2 separate regions of the Homo sapiens genome follow, and region 2 is linked to region 1. The links are contacts of gene promoters, found by promoter capture Hi-C in blood cells and fetal thymus (Javierre and others, 2016). All regions are on one chromosome and are shown on one strand. Each heading gives the region's core, a stretch centred on a gene start or on the middle of the fragment in contact. The rest is flanking DNA. Distances are from core to core; before and after follow the strand shown. Region 1 holds the start of FKBP4 (FKBP prolyl isomerase 4). Region 2 holds the start of DHX37 (DEAH-box helicase 37).

Evidence for each region. The method cuts DNA at HindIII sites, captures the fragments that hold promoters and counts their contacts. A CHiCAGO score of 5 or more calls a contact.
Region 2: the fragment with the promoter of DHX37 here is called in contact with the fragment with the promoter of FKBP4 in region 1 in 1 of 17 cell types (total CD4 T cells); the score reaches 8.1 in total CD4 T cells.

Annotation. Positions count from the first base shown.
Region 1 is chr12:2,792,960-2,796,709 of GRCh38, reverse strand. FKBP4 (FKBP prolyl isomerase 4) reads right to left here and starts at 1,740. Exons shown (of 10, transcript NM_002014.4): 1 at 1,466-1,740. The coding sequence starts at 1,570. The region is part of intron 2 of ITFG2-AS1 (ITFG2 antisense RNA 1); the gene reads left to right. RefSeq lists enhancers at 1-277, 1,771-2,315, 2,316-2,861 and silencers at 692-1,101, 1,452-1,511, 1,542-1,921. The HindIII fragment of the contact is 2,886 bases long and covers 261-3,146 here.
Region 2 is chr12:124,986,757-124,990,557 of GRCh38, reverse strand. DHX37 (DEAH-box helicase 37) reads left to right here and starts at 1,427. Exons shown (of 27, transcript NM_032656.4): 1 at 1,427-1,641. The coding sequence starts at 1,536. RefSeq lists a silencer at 1,514-1,723 and an enhancer at 2,964-3,507. The HindIII fragment of the contact is 16,586 bases long and covers 1-3,801 here.

The DNA of each region.
Region 1 (3,750 bases), core at 491-2,990:
CAGTGGTCGTCAGACTAAGGTCTGGTTTGGAGACAGGAGAGCGAGAGGAGTATGAGTGAAGAGAATAGAAACAGTTCAAAACAGGTAAGGAAGAAACCAGGTTATAGGTGAACCCGGAGGCTCTCCATGGGACCTTAAACTCTGACTTGGGAGCTGAGTATTCCTCTGGTAGTTAGTCCAGGGCTGGAGTATTTCCCAGAAACGTAAAGGCTTCTTTAGCGCCACCTGGTAGGTGTGTGGTTACCCTCCAAGGGAAAGCTTCCACGAAGAATAGACAGGGGCTTTGAGGAGTAGAAAGGTAAAAGGGAAGGAATGATGGATCAAAGGGGAAATGAGCTTTCCTGGAATAACAATCTCGTAGAAAACGGCAGGACGCTGGAGCGAGAAGGGGAAGTCACATGCCACAGGAGAGCCGCTGGAGCAGACGCTTGAGGTCCCCAATAATCTGGTGCAAAGACAGATGCACTTCTGGACCAGGTAAAGGCCCCCTGAGGTGGGTGCCGCACACGCGGAGCTCAGCGGTGGGAAGCCAGGATGAGGACGCAGCAGCGGATGGGGAGAAGGCATAAGACGCAGGCTGGGAATTCACCATCTCTGATTCTCCCTGGAACCTGCTCCGACCCAAGGCAGGTTGTCCTGGCCCAGGTCAAGATGCCCTCCCCGCAGCTCCCCAGGCTATTTGTAGTCGAGCGGTCACTCGGCGGCAGGCTCCACAGCAGAGCGCCTCCTCCCCGCCCCACACCCCGCAGCCCTGGCTCCGGGAGGCGGCGGAGGGGGGAGGGGACTACAGCTCCCGGCATGCCCCGCGCCCGGCCTCCCCGGGGCCGAGGGAGGGGGCGCCGCGCGGCGAGTGGGGACCTCGCTGGGTCCCGGCGTCGGCAGGGGACCCCGGGAGGGCGCCGGAACCCTGTCGCGCCTGCGTCGCACAAAGGCCGAAGGGCCAGGAAAGCACTGTGGGGAGTCGCTCCCCGTCCTGGCCCGTGTTCCACCGCCCGGGTGGGCGAGCCCTGGCACCGCCACCAACGAGGCGGCCCGCGGCTGGCAGCTCCGCTGGGGCCGCGAGGTCGGGGGCGGCGTGGCGTGGGAGGCCCGGCCTGGCCCCGGGCTGCGGCTCGGGTGCCCGCGGCGGTCGCCTCGCCCCGCCCCTCTCCGCCGCCCCGCGCGCGCCGGGGTGGGCACTGCAATCCCGACCCCCTGCCCGGGCCCGGGCGCTGCCGGCTGGGGAGCCTGGGGCCTCGGCCCGCGCACCTAGGCCGCCCCCCTGCCGAGCGCATGGCCGGCCTCGGTGCCTTAAACGACGCAGCCCGGTCCGGGACGGCGATGCCACCGGCCCCCGGCGGGACGGCCGCGAGGCTGCAAAGGCGGCCGCCTCGACCCGTGCCCGGCCGCGGGCTCCGGGCGCGGCGGAAGGGCGGCCCGCGGGGCCCCGGGTTCCGACGCCTCCGCAGGCCCCGCCGCCCCTCACCTTCAGCACGCCTTCGTCCTGTTTGGGGCTGATGTCCACTCCCTCCATGGGCAGCGGCGCCGACTGCGCCCCGCTCTCGGTCGCCTTCATCTCCTCGGCTGTCATCTCCGCGCGGCGCGCCGTTTATCCGGGAGCTGGTGCCGGCGCGAGCGCACTCTGGGCCGCGGGCGGGGGCGCTACCTGCGGGGCGTGCGGGAGGCCGGGCGCGGCGGCACTGACTGCGGACCGCGAGGAGGCTTGAGCACCTCTGCACGCGGCGCGAGAGCTGGGGTAGGTGGGTCAGGAGCGGCTCGGGGAGCGATTGGTCCCGCCCCGCCGCGAGGGAGGGGCTGGGAGGAGCGGGAGCGCAGACAGAGGGGGCGGGGTGCAGAACTTTCTAGAGACGGCGGGACTGAGCCGGTTCGGGCTCAGTGCTGCGGGCGCTTCGGAATTTTTTTTTCTTTTTTTTTTTTTGGTTCTTGCCTCCTTCTGGCTGCCTGCCCCCTCCCCCTTCTCCTGGGACCCTCGGACTCGGGATCTCCCCGGCGGCCTCCCTTGGCCCTTCCTCCCTCCCTCCCATCCCCGCCCGCTTCCCTGTCTAACCGGATTCTTCCAGATTCTTCTCGATCGATCTCCCGACATCACTCCACCAGTCCGCTGCGCCTGCGGCGGGGTGTGGGGAGCGCAGGCTGCGGGATGGCAGTGGCGGCGCCCCCTCCCCGGGACCGGCCGTCACCACGGGCGGCGTGGCCTCTCTGCTATGACCCGCGTAGACCCTTCCCTACTTGGGGGAAAGAGGGCAAGGGCGTGCGCGGGGAGCGGGGAGTGAGTGGACAGCGCTGCCCCGCTGCAGAGAGCCGGGGAAAGCGACCTCGATTTCCCCAGATCCGAGAAGCCCCGGCCAGGCAGCGATGCCTCGCTCAGCGCCTGCAGATGCTGCGAGCAGCGGGGTTGGCAAGGCATGGCCCGCCCAGCTCGGAACTCAGATGGGGCACACACTCAGGGGACCCTTCCCGGCGGTAATAAAACTGCCGTTTCCGCGAATGCTTACAAAGATGGGTTCCCCTCACGAAAAAAGTCACTCGGTTTTCCTAAAGGCCCACAGAAGGAGTATTTTCTTCTCAATGTTTGCTTCCCGAGTGTTTTTCGACAGGCTGTGGAGCGCGCAGGTGCCGGTGTCACCTAAGCTATGGTCGTGGGACCTAGAGAGCCATCTAGAGAGGGGCCTGGTTTTGCTCAGCACCTAACCCCAGTTTAGCATAGTGCCTGGTGAGTGATGTCCCAATAGTTACTGGCTGCATGAATTTTCCTTTTTTAAATTTCTTTTTCCAAGTCTTGGCTGATTTTTTTTTCTTTTTTTTTTTTTTTTGAGACAGGGTCTTGCTCTGTCGCCCAGGCTGCAGTGCGGTGGTGCGATCTTGGCTCTCTGTAGCCGGGACTACAGGCGTCCGCCACCACGCCGACTAATTTTTGTATTTTTAGTAGAGACGGGGTTTCGCCATGTTGCCCAGGCTGGTCTCGAACATCTGGTCTCAAATGATCCGCCCGCCTCGGCCTCCCAAAGTTCTCGGATTACAGGCGTGAGCCACTGCGCCCAGCCTGAATTTTTATTCCAATAATAACTGTATTTTTGGACTTCCCGTTATGTGCCCGGCACTGTGCGATTGGACGCCATTAGTCTCATCAAACTAAATTGAAAGCTTTTTAGAGATGAACTTTCAGCGTCATAATGTGATGATTTATTGTAGTCCCTGCCGACGGAACTTGAAAGGGATGCAGAAGAAAAAGCCCTTCGCTTCAGCAATTTACAGCCCAAATGAGTTGAGCCATAATGAAGACGTCTCTTTAGGTGGCTGGAGACAGCTTCAGAGGATACGGGGCGCTGCCTCTGTAGGGGTTAAATCCACTACTTTTATGCAGAAGTAACAGTGCCAGGGGTCACCCAAACTCCGGGAGACCAGGATGGTGGGTGCTGGCTTCCGGGGTGGCAGTTTACCGCAAACTGTCCTTGGCTTGCACCTACTGATTCTCCACGTGTGGCGGTTTCTTTTCTGCGTCTTTTTCTTCATCGGAAGCGGACAGTGTGGGACCCCCCCTTTAATTCTGTTCGGCACGTACATAGTGGAGCCCTTCAGATTGCCTGCCGTTACATTAACACATAGCCTAATACCCTAGTGGAATGAGCATGTGCTTTGGAGTAAGGGACGTTGGGCGGCCCATGTGTTATGTTAGCTGTTTAAATTGGGGCAGGTTAGTTAATCTTCATGTCTCGATTTCTTGTCTGTAAAATAGAGATAGTAACATTT
Region 2 (3,801 bases), core at 178-2,677, about 120 Mb before region 1:
CAAAAAACCCCATAGATTTGATACGCTAATTATGATTTTTTTAAACGTCATTCATTAAGGCCTTCACAGTGGCTTATGCCTGTAATTCCGGCACTTTGGGAGGCCGAGACAAACGGATCCCTTGAGCCCAGAATTTTGAGACCAGTCTAAGCAACATAGGGAGACACCATCTCTACAAAAAAATAGAAAAATTAGCCCGTCGTGGTGGTGTGTGCCTGTAGTCATAACTACTCAGGAGGCTGAGGTGGGAGGACAGGTCAAGGCTGCAGCGAGTGGTGATTGCACCACTGCACTCTGGCCTGGCCCACAGGGCGAGATCTCATCTCTTAAAAAAAAAAAAAAAAAAGTCGGGCGCGGTGGCTCATGCCTGTAATCCCAGCACTTTGGGAGGCCCAGGCAGGCAGATCACGAGGTCAGGAGTTTGAGACCAGCCTGGCCAACATGGTGAAACTCCGTCTCTACTAAAATACAAAAACTAGCTGGGGGTGGTGGCGGGCACCTGTAGTCCCAGCTACTCGGAAGGCTGAGGCAGGAGAATCGTTTAAACCCGGGAGGCAGAGGTTGCAGTGAGCCGAGATTGCTCCACTACACTCCAGCCTGGGCAACAAAGCCAGACCTTGTCTCAATAATAATAATAATGCATTGTTTCCCAGTGTGTTACAATGTGATGCGGTAATGGGAATTTAAAGTTATGTAATAGACAACTTTATTTTTTTTTTTTTGAGACAGAGTCTAGCTCTGTTGCCCAGGCTGAAGTGCAGTGGTGCAGTCTCGGCTCACTGCAACGTCCACCTCCCGGGTTCAATCAATTCTCTGCCTCAGCCTCCCAAGTAGCTGGGATTACAGACGCCTGCCACCAGGCCTAGCTAAATTTTTTTTGTATTTTTGGTAGAGACGGGGGTTTCACCATCTTGGCCAGGCTGGTCTTGAAATCCTGACCTCGTGATCCGCCCGCCTCGGCCTCCAAAAGTGCTGGGATTACAGGCGTGAGCCACCGCGCCCGTAGAGGCCTCCTTTTAGATCTTCCATCTATCCCTGTGATGGAAATATTTGGTGCCTTTTTAAAAGTACACGACTAATACGTTTCTTGTAGGAATATCAGAAAATACAGATGCGCAAACCAGGGTTGGGGGGAAGAAGTTTGGAGTACTGGGGGCGGGGTATATTTTAAAAGGTGGCAAAACACTTCCACTCCCAAGAAGCCAAATTAGTATCAGTAGATATAATTCATATTTAAACCCAGACTACCCCAAGCGAGAACAGCCCAGGACTTAAACTCCGGCCTCCGCTGGGACCTCAGGCCCCGCCTACTTCTCTAAATAGTCCCGCCCCCTGCCCGGCCCGGCTCCGCCTCTCCTCTTCGCTGGGTTTCTCTTGCAACCCCGCCCCTCAGCGGCAAAGTCAGTTACAGTTCTCGCGATAACACAACCCGGAAGTCTCACGGCCGGAGTTGGTGGTCTGGGAACCCACGTGGGCTGGGTTTCGGATTGCTCTGCTGGTCCGGCCGCTGGAGCGCCCACCCTGGCCTAGTCGCCATGGGGAAGCTGCGCCGGCGCTACAACATCAAGGGGCGCCAGCAGGCGGGCCCCGGACCCTCGAAGGGCCCCCCCGAGCCGCCCCCCGTGCAGCTGGAACTGGAGGGTAAGACATCCCCGGACCGGGGCTGGATTTCGGAGATTTCCCAGGGCGGCCTGTGCCCTGCCTTCAGGACTCTCGGGTGGGGATCCCAGAGGGGTGGGATGGATCATCTGGAATGGGGGAATGGGTCCCCCCATTCCAGATGATCCAAAGGAGAGGGGCTTAGTGACAGCCTAGTTTTAACAGTGTATATGGAATACCCGGGATTTCTCTCGCCCTCAAATAGTAACATGGAGAATTTGGCAAAAAAAACAGGAGTAGTTCCATCCCTTCCCATGACTTCGATTATAATCTCTTTATAATCTCCAGCGACCCCCAAATGTGTATTTTCAGCCCAGTCTTGTCTGCTCAGCTCCAGGCTGGCTGACATTTCTCTCAGACCCCTTTTTAGGAGTAGCCCTTATTACATGCCAGGCACTATTCTAGGCACTGGAGACATAGCAGAAAGGGAGATTTTTAGAAAATCCCTGAGTTTACCTGCTGTATAGGAGGAGACAGGCAAAGAATAAACATATAGAAATTTATGCGGCTATAGTGAGCAGATAAAACAGAAGAGGCCATTGGGTGGGTTGCAGCATCCCATAGAGTTGCTGGAGAAGACATCACTCTGTTAGAGTCAAGATCTGAAGGAGACCTGAGTGGCTGCCTGGAGATGAGAGAAAAAACAGGGGGCCAGGGCAGGTCGGGCCTGGACTGCAGTCTTGGCGAGGACTGGGGCTTTTTCTCTACGGGAGAGGGCAGCCATGGGAGCATTTAGAGCAGAGGAGGCGTGGTGGTGGGCACCTGTAGTCCCAGCTACTTGGGAGGCTGAGGCAGGAGAATGGCTTGAACCCAGGATACGGAGGTTGCAGTGAGCCAAGATCGCACCACTGTACTCTAGCCTGGGTGAGAGAGCGAGACTCCATCTCAAAAAAAAAAAAAAAAAAAAAAAAGTTCCACAGACAGGCTGGGAGTTGAGGCAGATCCCCTAACATCTCTGTGCCTTCGTTTTCACATCTGCAGAATGGGACCAGTAGCACACGTTGAGCAGCCTTAATCCAAAATACTCCAAAATTCAAAAGTTTTTGAGTGTCAACATGACACTTAAGGAAATGCTCATTGGAGCATTCCAGATTTCAAATTTTTAGATTAGGGATGCTCAACCAGTGAATAGAATACAGATGTTCCTAAAGCTAAAACAGGTCTGGTTCCTAGCATTTCTGGAAAGGGATATTTAACCTGTAGTAGCCGTCTTACCTCCTATCAGAGTTTTGGAGATGGTAATTTGGGAAAATATGTTGCTTTGAAAAGTAAAGAAAGGTTACAGAGGTGGGGTGTGTCCCAGGACAGGTGACAACCGTTATGATGGCAGTGACAATTCAGGATGGCACCTCAAAGACAGCCGTAGACACTGGGCTGACACTTGGAACTGGACCACCTGAGCAGAGGGGCTGAGGTCTCTCAGACCCAGAGATTTGGGGAAAGTTGTTTCTCACATCAGAACAGGACATTTCCATGTATCCCTGCCTTTCTCAGGGGCCAGAGGAATCTCATAAGAACATGACTCAGATTACCTTCTTTTATTTATTTATTTATTTGAGATGGAGCCTTGCTCTGTCGCCTAGGCTGGAGTGCAGTGGCGTGATCTCTGCTCACTGCAACCTCCACCTCCCGGGTTCAAGCAGTTCTCGTGCCTCAGCCTCCTGTGTAGCTGGGATTATAGGTGCATGCCATCACACCTGGCTAGTTTTTGTATTTTTTGTAGAGACGGGATTTTGCCATGTTGGCCAGGCTGGTCCCCAACTCCTGGCCTCAGGTGATTTTCCCAAAGTGCTGGGATTGCAGGCGTGCGCCACCGCGCCCGGCCCCACCGTACACTCTTAGGAGAACATCAGGCTGGGTGCAGTGGCTCACGCCTGTAATCCCAACACTTTGGGAGGCTGAGGCGGGTGGCTCACTTGGGGGTCAGGAGTTCGAGACCGCCTGGCTAAGATGGTAAAACCCCGTCTCTACTAAAAATACAAAAATTAGCTGGGGCGTGGTGGTACATGCCTGTAATCCCAGCTACTTGGGAGGCTGAGGCGGGAGAATTGCTGGAACCTGGGAGGCGGAGGTTGAAGTGAGCTGAGATTGCGCCACTGCACTCTAGTCTGGGGGACAAAGTGAGACACCGTCTCAAAAAAA